2 separate regions of the Homo sapiens genome follow, and region 1 is linked to region 2. Evidence: promoter capture Hi-C in human tissues and cell types (Jung and others, 2019). All regions are on one chromosome and are shown on one strand. Each heading gives the region's core, a stretch centred on a gene start or on the middle of the fragment in contact. The rest is flanking DNA. Distances are from core to core; before and after follow the strand shown. Region 1 has its middle 6.8 kb from the start of FHOD3. Region 2 holds the start of TPGS2 (tubulin polyglutamylase complex subunit 2).

Region 1 (6,126 bases), core at 2,843-5,342, 540 kb before region 2:
AGAGCAGCTTGGGTTCCAGGTGGGCATAACATCTTGGTCCTGTGGACTTGCCCTATAGGGAAGGATGGCAGGAGCAGGGCCAGGATGAGGCCCTCCAAAGCATGGAGCCCAAGGCAGGGGCCTTTCTTGTTCTGGGCAAAGGGCAGTATTGTTAAAATTTTTCTGGAGAAAGTAAACTACCCCAGAGGAAAGACCTAAAGATAGTCAAGAAATAAGCCATTTGTCCACTGGTTTGGTCTGCAGTGGAGTCCATCAGGCAAAGTGCCTCTATTATACCCTAGAGCTTCCAATCAGCTTTCTTTCTTTCTTTTCTTTTTTCTTTTTCTTTTTTTTTTTTTTTTTTGAGGCAGAGTCTCGCTCTGTTGCCCAGGCTGGAGTGCAGTGGTGCAATCCTGGCTCACTGCAACCTCTGCCTCCCAGGTTCAAGCGATTTTCCTGCCCCAGCTTCCCAAGTAGCTGGGATTACAGGCGCCTGCCACCACACCCAGCTATTTTTCGTAGTTTTAGTAGAGACAGGGTTTCACCACATTGGTCAGGCTGGCCTCAAACTCCTGACCTCAAGTGATCCGCCTGCCTCGGCATCCCAAAGTGCTGGGATTACAGAAGTGGGCCACATTGCCCAGCCTCCCAGTTGGCTTTCAATGTGATGAACAGCCAAGGATCATGCCATTTGAGGAAAGTGTCTACTATAAAAGAAAAAAACTGAAAGAAAAAGAAGAAAGGAAGAACCCAAAGTGTACAGAAACAGTGCAGCAAAAAGAAGAAAACTTTAAAGAAAATGTGGTTAATAATATCAGGGAAATCCTGGAAATAAGAACAAGATATTTTAAAAAGAAAAATCACAGAACAAGACAGAATTCTTGAAAAGTAAAAACATGAATGCTGCAATACAACATTCAGTAGAAGAAAAGGAAATACAGTTTAGGAAATTTCCCAAAAAGTAGAAGAAAATAATCAGAGAGATGAACAGGGCAGAAAAGTTAAGAAAATTAGAGAACCTGCTTAGTGATCCAACATCTGAATAATAGGAGTTCTAGGAAGAGCAAGCAGAGAACACTGTGGAGAGGAAATGATCAAAAACAGGATATAAGAACATTTCTGCATCAAAGAGCAGGATCTCTGGATTAAGTAATATCCACAAAATGACAACAGGATGAATGAAAAAGAATCCCCACCAGGGCACCTCATCATGGAATTTCAGTATATTGGGAATAATGAGAAGGTTCAAAAAGCTTCCAAAGAGAGAGGGGAAAAAAGTTACCTATACAATGTAGAGTTACCTATACAGTTGCCCCTTGATATTCATGGTTGTTTGGTTCCAGGACCTCCCTTGGATACCAAAATCCGTGGGTGCTCAAGTCCTTCACATAAAATGGTGTAGTATTTAACATAACCTATGCATATCCTCCTGTATACTTTAAATCATCTGTAGATTACTTATAATATCTAATATCATGTAAATGTTATGTAAATAGCTGTTGTGTTGTTTAGGAAATAATGACAAATAAAAAAAGTCTGTACATGTTTAGTATAGATGCAAGCATTCATTCTTTTTTTGAATATTTCCAATCTGTGTAGGTTGACTCCATGGATGCAGAGCCCACAGACACAGAGGGCCAGCTATACCACAGCACAAATAGTCTAAAGCAACAAGAAAAATTAGAAGACAATGAAGCAATGCCTCAAAATTCTGAGTAAAAATCATTTTAACCTAGAATTGTATAACATATGTGTTATATTGTTTCAGAGATGACTACAACATTTCTTCATATCTGGGTACGTGTACCTCTTTGCAATGTGATTTCACTTCTCCCATCAGGGAGTGGAATCTATTTCCCCACTTCTTGAATCTAAGCTGATCTTAACTTATTTCAACCAAAAAAAAAAAAAGAGTAGCAAAACTGATACAGCATAATTTCTAAGCCCAGGTCTCAAGAGATCTTGCAGCTTCCACTGTTGACCTCTTAGAATGCTATCCTAAGTCTACCAGTGTAAAGAAGCCAGGTCTAGCCTATTAGATGAGAAACCCAAGGAGAGATGAACCATTCTAACTGAAGCCCCCATCTGGACCAGCCAGCTGACAGCCAGCGTACATTACCAGGCATGGAAGGAGGCTATTTTAGTCCCACCAGTCCCAGTCAAGCTTCTAGATGACTGCAACTACATGAACGATCTCAGGTGAGACCAGATCAAATTGCTGATCCACAGAATCAAAAGAAAATAAAATGGTTGTTATTTTAAGCTACTACATTTTGGAGTGGTTTCTTATACAACAAAGACTAAATAAAACAGGAATTGGTACCTAGAAGTAGAGTGCTACCATAACAAACCCCTAAATTGTGTGACAGTGGTTTTAGGACTGGGCAGGGGGCAGAGGCTGGGAAAGTGGTGAGGAAACCATTATTTGAATCTGCATGCAGATGAGGACTTTCTCCTCGGGTACAACTGCTCTGATGCAGAGACCTGTTACCGTAAAAGACAAAGTGTATAGCCCTTTCACACTCAATATGCAATGGTGAAATTGGGACAGAATAACTTCAAGAGGCACTCACATTTAAAAATAGACAGACTGGGGCCAGGTGTGGTGGCTTACACCTGTGATTCTAGCACTTTGGGAGGCTGAGGTGGGTGGGTTGTTTGAGCCCGGGAGTTAGAGACCAGCCTGGCCAACTGGTGAAACCCCGCCTCTACTAAAAACACAAAAATTAGATAGGTGAAGTGGTGTGCACTTGTAATCCCAACTACTTGGGAGGCTGAGGCACGAGAATCTCCAGGAGGTGAAGGTTGCTGTGAGCCAAGATCACGCCACTGCACTCCAGCCTGGGTGACAGAGTGAGACCCATCTCAATAATAATAATAATAAAATAAAAAATAGACAGATTGGAAGACACACAGCAGTCATTGATTCATAGCAATGCTGAACTCCAGCCAGACACATGTTGCCAGTTTCTCTTACTCCAGGAGACTACGGCCCAGTTCTGCTTCCTGGGATGGTTTCCAAGTTTTTTGTTCCCCACGATCCTTAGTTCCCATGCTCTGATAGAACCTTCCTTTTCCAAAGGTAATGGCTGCCGTGTTTGCAGCAGAGAAACTTTCTTACTTTAGTTTTTTTTTTTTAATTAATTTTAGTTTTTTTTTTTTTTTTTTTGAGACGGAGTCTCGTTCTGTTGCCCAGGCTGGAGTGCAGTGGCATGATCTCGGCTGACTGCAAGCTCCACCTCCTGGGTTCACGCCATTCTCCTGCCTCAGCCTCCCTAGTAGCTGGGACTACAGGCGTCTGCCACCACGCCCGGCTAATTTTTTGTATTTTTAGTAGAGACGGGGTTTCACCGTGTTAGCCAGGATGGTCTTGATCTCCTGACCTGGAGATCCACCTGCCTCAGCCTCCCAAAGTGCTGGGATTACAGGTGTAAGCCACCACGCCTGGTCTTTAGTTTTATTTTATTATTAATTCAGGTACAGTTTTGTTATGTGGGTATATTGCATAATGTTGAGGTTTGGGATTCTAGTGAAACCATCACCCAAACAGTGAATACAGTATTGAGATGGTATTCAGTAAACAAAATAGGTAGCTTTTCAACCTTTGCCTCCTTCCTCTTCCCCTTTTAGAGTCCCTAGTGCCTATTATTTCCATCTTTATGTCCATGAGTGCCCACTGTTTAGCTCTCACAAGTGAGAATATGTGGTATCTGATTTTCTTTTTCTGGGTTATTTCACTTAGGATAATGGCCTCTAGCTCAATCCAAGTTGCTGCAAAGGACATGATTTCATTCTTCTTTATGTTTGTCTGCTTCTTATCCATTTCAGGTTGGAGTTCCATAAGTTTCTTTTTATTTTGAACAATCTCAGTCCCTTTTAGCCTAAGCTGACAGTGCTTTCATAAATACAACTATCTGAAAAATGTTGTGGATTTTCTATCAGTCTTACTAGGGTTTACTCCATGTGCCAAACACTATACACATAATCCTTCCTCCTCTGGGCATGTCATGCTGCTGTGGAACAACACCCTTAAGATTCTTAGAAGCTCTTTTGTATAAATGAGAAGATCTGCTAGGCACTACCTTAAATCTCTCTGAGACTGTAACAAAGTGTCTTACAACTGAATTTCAACATTTTTTTTTCATAGCTATGGGGTCTTGCTCTGTCTCTCAGGCTGGAGTGCAGTGGTATGATCATAGCCCACTATAACCTTGAACTCCTGGGCTCAAGCAATCCTCCTGCCTCAAAAATGTGGTTGAATTTCCCACACTGGGAATTCCCCACACTGGGAATTACAGGTGTGAGCCACTGCGTCTGGCCTACAACCACATTTTTAAACTGATCTTTACCAAGATTATTTCTTACTGTGAAGGTCTTTTACTAACTGGAGAAACTGGGGGTGAGAAATTGTTTATTTTATAACCCAGCAAATTTTAACTACTCACTCTGTTTGCAAACAGAATTCATTGTAATATGCAGCTACAGGTACCCAACAGATACTTCCAACATACTGACTAAAGATCTCCTTAGCCAAGTTTATAAACTCATTAGTTACATTTTCTATCTTCCAAATTACTCTAGGCAATTGTCCTGTCAATTGTTTAATTGCTGCATAACTCAGGTAACCATTTTTTTTCCAGTCTTCAGTAGCAATTTCTTTACCAGGTTTCCTAGGCTAGATCTGGCCTCTTCACATGGTAGTCCCAGGCCAATATTCCAAGAGTGTGAAAGGAGATGCCGTAATGTCTCTTGAGGCCTAGTTTCAGAAGTCACACAATGCCACTTCCACCATATTCTATTGGTCAAAGCAAGTCACAAAGCCTCCCGAACTCAAGGAGTGGAGAGATAGACTTCACTTTGTGACAGGAGAAGTGGCAAAGTCATATTGGAAAATGGCGGGAATACAAGGGGTGGGAGGAATTATTGTAGCCATCTTTGCCAACAAAACTGCCACACCAAGACAAGTGCTAGGACAATGATTTAAGATTGTTTGAGACATAAAATTTTTCAAAACTTCATCCTTTCTCAGAAAGCTACTGTAGTATGTACTAACAAAAAATGCGAGTGTAAACTAAGAAATAATAAGATAAGTGAGCTGGGAACCAGGGGCACCTGCAGAAGAGAAAAGTCAAGAAAATATCCAGGAGGATAGGGCTGAGGGAGCCACATTTCAAATTGGAGCAGGAGGATGGAATAGAACTGAAAGCTTATTTGACAATATTGAGAGAGGCATTTGTAGGACTGTTGCAGGATATGAGATGATTTAGCCAGCTGTTCAAGAAAAAATAATAATCAAATGAAAAAAATTGAGGCAAACATTAACTTGAGGAAAAACAAAAAGTTGTACAAGAAAGGGCATGTAATCCTGTACACAACTTGGCACAGACAGGAACAATATTAACATCATAAATTTTAAAATCACTGCATAAGAATTTGACTAACATTGTGACAGAACAATATTGGAAAAGGAAATGGACTATAAAGAAGCTAAAACCCTCCGCATGACAGAAGGTCAGTGTATTATCTAAAATTGATAGCTCAAAGTACAGCAGTGTACTCACACTATTTAGAAACGAGTGGCTCTGGAAAGTGTGTATGTTAAGAAGGGGTGTTGTAAACTAGGGTCAGATGTCTGTTTCTGATATCTTGTTATAACTTTTTATTACTCTTGGCCTTTTAAATTAAGATAAATCATTACATTACTAAAAAGAAATAATTTAAAAATTAGGCTGAGAAAAAAATTGGCTGTTAGAGGAAAAAATATTAGTAATTAGTAAATTTTTGCCAAGGCAAAAATCCTTAAAAGAATTAAGGATAGCCTATATAATTAAAAAGTCTGAAGGTTTCATTTTAGGTGCCAGTCACTGAAGTTTTCAGATTAAAATTTAATAAGGCAAATTCCAATCCTGAAAATCTTATAGTTAGTGGAGTAGGCATATACAAGCATACATTTACAATGTAACATGAAAAGTGCTACAGTAAGGGCATATGTAATTTGAGACCACAGAAGAAAGACAGACAATCCTTGTTTGGGGTAGAGTTGGAGATGTCTCTCCAGAAGAGTTGACATTAGAAATGAGAATTGAAGGATAAGTGGGTTCAGCTGACTGACTAGATAGGCAAGAGCATTCTAGGTTTAGATGCTCA
Region 2 (6,366 bases), core at 84-2,583:
ACCTTTCTCCTCCTTAGTTTTCTGGCTAACTCCTATATGTCTTTCAAAATCTAGCATCATCTCCTCTGTGACATGTTCTTTAACTTCCCTGGTAAGATCAGTCCCCTCCTCTGTGACATCTCTGAGTAACAGATTACTGACCTCTTTTCACACTCCTAGTGACCTCATTTGTTTATTTTTTTCACAGAACTGTGTCTTTTTCATATTTTTAACCTCACGTCTAACATAGTGGTGAGTACTAAAGAAACGTTTGATAGGCCAGGCGCGGTGGCTCACGCCTGTAATTCCAGCACTTTGGGAGGTCGAGGCGGGTGGATCACCTGAGGTCAGGAGTTCGAGACCAGCCTGGCCAACATGGTGGAACCCTGTCTCTACTAAAAATACAAAAAAATAGCTGGGCGAGGCAGGAGAATTGCTTGAACCCAGGAGGCGCAGGTTGCAGTGAGCCGAGATCGCGCCATTGCACTCCAGCCTGGGCAACAAGAGCAAAACTCTGTCTCAAAATACAAACAAGCAAGCAAACAAAGAAATGTTCGATAAAAGAAAAACTCTGAGTCATTCAGTGGTGCAAGGTTGGATTCCTTTCAGACCCGACGTAGTTGTCGCCCTGGGAGGTCGGGTGCATTACTTCCCCCAGAGAAAGGTCTTGGGTTTCGGGGATAATGCCCTGGCTGAGAATGCCTCCTAGGGGGAGATCCAACTTCCCAACCGTCAGGTGCTTGCTGTGTTCCCTTTGCACGTCTCTGCCCGTCCTTCCTGGGTGGGACCTTGGTTGGCGGTGAGTGGGGGAAACTTCAGGCTTCCCAGCTCTGCCTCCGAACACTCCTGGCAAACACTTTCAAGGCCTAATCACAAACCCAGGTCCCCCACTTTCCTCTGTAACAACGGAAGTCCCAGCAGCGATGTCCACTCCTGTTCTGGGGCCAGCGTCGCACCGCTCACCCCGCACCTCATCCCTCCGCTCCTCCTTCCTTCTCCTCCACACCCTCTCGGCACCGTGCCCCCTTTCCTCACCTAGGATGCGCGTGATGCCCAGGGTCAGCTTCTCCAGGTGCGGCTTGCTGCAGCCCAGCCCCGGGGACGATGCCTCCTCCTCCATGGCTCGCGACCGCGATTCGCGCGCGGCGGGAGCGGGTGGAGGGCCGGACCCCGCCTCAGCGCCGAGGCCAATTTCATGGCATGCCGGGAACGGTAGTTCTCGGCGCCTGAAAGCGCGGCGCAGTGATGATGGGGGCCCGGGGTTGGTCTGACAGCAGCAGCTCCGTGGGGCGCCGGTTCCCGCGGCCCCGCCCGGTGCCCCACACCGCACCTCCGGGACGTAGCTTCCCCTTCGCCCCCACCCTCTCGCCCCGCAGGGGCCGGCCGCGCAGGCGGGGGCGGGCCTCTGCGTGGTGCGGCCAATGGGGACCGAGCCTGCAGGCCGAGGCGTGGCGGCCCAGGCGCGACGCCCCGAGTGGCGGTTGTTTCAAGATGGCGGACGTGGCGGGCCCCTCCCGCCCCAGTGCCGCGGCGTTCTGGAGCCGGGACTGTATCCTTTGCCCGCCTGACAGGGGGCGCCGGCGCCCTCCACGGGACGGCGAGGGGCGAGCCGTCGCGTGGCAGTCCGAGAGCGGAGGAGAAGCTCCGAACTAACCCCGGGGATGGGGACGTGCTGCTCGGCCCCAGTCTAGGTGCTGGGCTCTCCCCTTGCTTGGGTGTTAGGTGGCCGAGAGACTGGTACTGTCTGCAGGTGTGGGGACACGGCTCAGATGCTTCCCAGCGCTCACTACCGGTGAGCTCGAGAAAGATAGCCTTGAGTCCAGGCTCAGTCCAGGGCTGAGATGGCCCTCCGAGGTCCCTCTGCCCACCCTGTCAGAGTGCCCCCAGGCTGACTTGAGTGTGCGGAGCTAGCTCGAAGTTGAGGGAGGAGTCGGTGTTGGCTGGACAGGGAGCCTTTTTGTTTTGATTTAGGATTGTCTTTAGTCTGCATTGCTAGGAGCAAGTCAGGACCTTTCGGACTTAAAAGGCCCTCCAGTGATGATGTATTTTAATACTGGGGTTTTAGGAGAGGTGTGGAGCTTGGTTACTGGGATGTGGTCTGGTGGTGCTGGTTACTGCGTAAGATGGGAATCATTGTGCCTGGAAGTATTGTTGACTTACTTGTGGAGTGCGGGTCACTGGCAGTCATTGAAGTTCTTGGATCGTTGTGAGGTGGAGAAGCAGTGGAACTTTTTAGTCCAGTGGTAGTATTACCAGTTCAGCAGCAGTGATGAGATGTTTGTGTGACAGGAGTGTTTCTTTCCTTGGAGTAGGTAGACTCTTCTCGCTTGAGCTTTGGTCCTGATAATTTACTTCACGTTCCTTAGAGGGGTTACTTGAAAGAGGGACGGCAATCTGTGTTACTGAGTGCTTGCAGAGGCAGCTCTTTTTGTGTTTGCTAGGATTGGTGATGGCATTAATTGAGGCGTTGCTGTTACCTTTGGCAGAATCACTGGGCATTCTTCTTAGCTCCCAGTGAAACTTACAAAACTGTGTTATCAACTCCTTTGTTGAGTTACTAGGATTAGTGTCATGTGTAGAGAGAGGGATATGTTTGTATTCTGTGCTGCTCGTGTTTAGTGTTTGCACTTACTAGACATAATTACCATTTGTCTCTGATAGGTTGGTGAAAAGCAAATGAAATCATGTACATACACTGTGGATGAAAGCATACTAGTGCAGTGTGCAAATTAAATATTTTTTCCTTTACCTTTCAGAAGAGAATATGTGCACTGTGGACAACTGGGCTGAATTAGGAAGTTAGGAAATTGGGATAAGTCTTTTCTCAAGAAACACTGCTTCTGCATTGACATAATTTTGTGATGGAGGAGATACTTGAAGGTTATTAGCTTATAGCATCCTATGGTACTGTTCAAATATAGAATCAATGGTTTGGGGGGGGGACAAGCTATTGCAATGGGACTGAATAAGTGTATTAATAGATATATGGACTGAACCTAAGCTCTTGGTCTTCGCACCCAGTACTTTCACTTACTCATGTAGTTATATCACCCCCTATTTTATGTAGAAGTCATATATACTCCGTTATCTCTTGTATTCTGACTCCCAACATTTAATGTAAAATATTCGTCCTCTCATAGATAGTGAGGAATTGAAATTGTACAGGGGAAAAATGGTGGCGATTATATCCTATAAGATCTAATTCAGATGTATGAAAGGAATTGCAAAGTTGCTAGTGTCACCTTTCCCCTCAGACTATTCCACGTAATGACCAGTTAACATCGAGCCTCAGATATTTTCATTTTAAATCTCCATAGAGAATGTCACTGTAAGCAATGTCAAATGTAAATTTGTTACTGAATATTTGCTGAAAAGCATAATGATAGTTATTAATCATTTGATTTAGTTACATGTCTTTGCATCTTGATTCCTTTGTCATATTGATTATTTCCCAGACCACCCTAGAGCCTTTATAGTAGAATTTTCAATAGAAAAAGACCAAAAAGTAAGTACCTATAATCTGGTATTCTTTTCACACTATTGAAAAAAGATTTTCAATACTTCACCTAAACATTTAGAGAAATGTGATGGAGAGATTTCTTAGTCCTTGATGTTTCCATCATGAGAGGACAGATCATCTGTGACTCAATGGCACCTTTTTTTTTTATTGTTGTTGTTGTGAGTTATACATCTCCTGCACAGTATGATTCAGCAGTGCTGTTTTGCACAAGGAACGTTTTAGTACCTCATCTGTAAACAATGAGTGTGTGGTGTTGTCATGTTATGGGTTAAATCTTCCAGCAAAATATGCTCCTTCAGTTTAAGTTGCCTTTGTCCTTCATTACAGTTCCTAGTAATGTCAGAATGAGTTAGTGTTTCAGCAGTACCTAAATTTGACTGCTTAAATGCACTCAAGTGTATTACCATTAGCAATATCATGGACTTGATATTAAAAAATATGAACTGCAAGTGACCTGGTCAAAACATTGCAGTATAATCTCTGCTGTTGAGTTTTCAAATGGAAACAAAGACTGTATGTTGTGGTAAAAATAATATATTAGCCCAGAAAGTCTCTGTGGTTGATAATAATTACATATACATGTATTGCTGGCAAAACTCAGCAGATTAGAGTAGAATGGGCAGTACTGAACTTATTTCCTTCAAATCCTGGAGGTCTGGGATAGAGGTGCATCTTCCTCTCTACCACTTCTGCCTGGGTTTCTAATTACAGTTAGCCCTCTGTATCTGCTGATTCATTCAAATGTGGATGGAAAATATTTGAGAAAAAAAAGAAATAGCACACAAAAAAATACAAATTAAACTGTACAATTTAACTACTATTTATATAGCATGTACATTGTTTTAGGTATTATAAATAATCTAGAAATGACCCACTAGTAGGCCCACTATACATTTGGTATATAATGTGTCTGTTTGACTTCCCCATAAAATATACATTTGTTGGGAAATTCTAGATTTGAAGGAGGTAAATATTTGGGTTCTTAATATAATGAGATGAAAATACATTACAAATTATTAGAAAGGATAGAGGCAATTTCAAATATTGTTATTAAAAATATTGAAGTAGTTTGTTTAGAGTTTTATATATTTGAAAATAAATTTGTCATGGATGTAGCTGAAAGTAAAAGGTTTTGTTGGCCGCTTGCGGTGGCTCACACCTGTAATCCCAGCATTTTGGGAGGCCAAAGCAGGTGGATCACAAGGTCAGGAGTTCAAAACCAGTCTGGCCAACATGATGAAACGGCCGTCTCTACTAAAACTACAAAAAAAATTAGCCAGGTGTGGCGGCGGGCACCTGTAATCCCAGCTACTCGGGAGGCTGAGGCAGAGAATTGCTTGACCTAGGAGGTGGAGGTTGCAGTGAGCTGAGATCAAACCGCTGCACTCCAGCCTGGGTGGCAGAGCGAGACTCTGTCTCAAAAAAAAAAAAAAAAAAAAGTTTTGTTTGCATATTTAGAATCACAGAAATATAACATATAAGGTTGTTGGACAACACCTCATAAAATTAAATCAATACCAATTTTATTCTTTCATAGATGGAGCCAGACATTCTTTTATGTTTGAGGGTACAACACTGAACAAAATAAAACAAAAATCATTACCCTCTTGGTGCCTACATTTTAGTGAGATGAGATCAGGTCATGAATAAGGAAAATATATGTTCAATGATTTTTTTTTTTTTTTTTGAGTCAGAGTCTCGGTCTGTTGCCCAGGCTGGAGTGCAGTGGTGCCATCTCAGCTCACTGCAAGCTCCGCCTTCTGGGTTCACACCATTCTCCTGCCTCAACCTCTGGAGTAGCTGGGACTACAGGCACCCGCCACCATGCCCGGCTAATTTTTTTTTTTTACATTTTTAGTAGAGACAGGGTTTCACCGTGTTAGCCAGGATGATCTCGATTTTCTGACCTCGTGATATGCCCACCTCGGCCTCCCAAAGTGCTGGGATTACAGACGTGAGCCACTGCACCTGGCCTATGTTCAATGATATTGGTGCTGTGGAGAAAAAATAAAGCAGGAAAGAGGCAGATAGTAGCGGGAGGTAGGTAGGTTGTGGGAAGAGAGAGTTTTGCAATTTCAAGTACCTATATGGTTAGGAAGTGAAAGCTTCAATCAGAAGGTGACATGACATGACATATGACATAAGTCCTAAAGTGAGCCATGAAGATATTTGAGGAAAGAGCTTCCTGGGTAGAAGAAATCATACCTGCAGAAGCTATAAGGTAGGAGCTTGCATAGCTTGTTAACAATTATAAGAAAGCCAGGAATGAGTGAGAGGAATAGTAGCAAGTGAGATCAGAGATGTAACAAGTTACAGGGATCAGATCTTGAGCATTGCAGGCTGTTGTTAATACTTTGGCTTTTAATCTAAATTAGAAATGACATAACTATTAAAATGATCATTCTAACCACTGTGTGAAAAAATAGGCTGTTAAGGGAACATGCACAGAAGTGACAGAGAGCAGTTAGGAGCTTATTGCAATAATCCTGGGAGAGGAAAAGTTGAGTTGGATCAAGGTGACAGTTGAAAACAGTGTGTTATAATCATAGCCTTTCTAAATTTCTCCTTTTGAAATTCAAAATAGTTCTTTTTGTCTTAAATTTCTTCTACTTTTTAAATAGTAGGGCTTCTTGGGATATTTTATGAATACACTGTAGAAGAATAAATAATGTCTTTGTGTTTGCATGATTGACTTGCCCTCAGTGTTTGTTCTTCAAAGCTAAAGTCTATCTTGAAATTATTTACTCTTCAGAATTGTCAGTTCCTCAGTAATGACCAAACTGGAGCACTTAAGTTTTTGTTTACAAAAGGAAAGGAACCTAATAGTAGAGTATATATTGCAGGGTAACCCACTTGAGAGTGGATAA

The links. Contacts are between HindIII fragments. The study calls those that stand out against the background at their distance.
Region 1: a fragment that was not itself captured here is called in contact with the fragment with the promoter of TPGS2 in region 2 in 1 of the 25 tissues and cell types used here (IMR-90 fibroblasts).

What each region holds. Positions count from the first base shown.
Region 1 is chr18:36,287,869-36,293,994 of GRCh38, forward strand. No RefSeq gene overlaps it. Among named protein-coding and RNA genes, the nearest start is that of FHOD3, 6.8 kb to the right of the region's middle. The HindIII fragment of the contact is 4,811 bases long and covers 1,688-6,126 here.
Region 2 is chr18:36,827,669-36,834,034 of GRCh38, forward strand. It overlaps TPGS2 (tubulin polyglutamylase complex subunit 2), which reads right to left and starts at 1,334. Exons shown (of 7, transcript NM_015476.4): 1 at 1,015-1,334. The coding sequence starts at 1,099. KIAA1328 reads left to right here and starts at 1,459. Exons shown (of 10, transcript NM_020776.3): 1 at 1,459-1,528. The coding sequence starts at 1,471. RefSeq lists enhancers at 694-803, 904-1,696 and a silencer at 1,094-1,693. The HindIII fragment of the contact is 11,405 bases long and covers 1-6,160 here.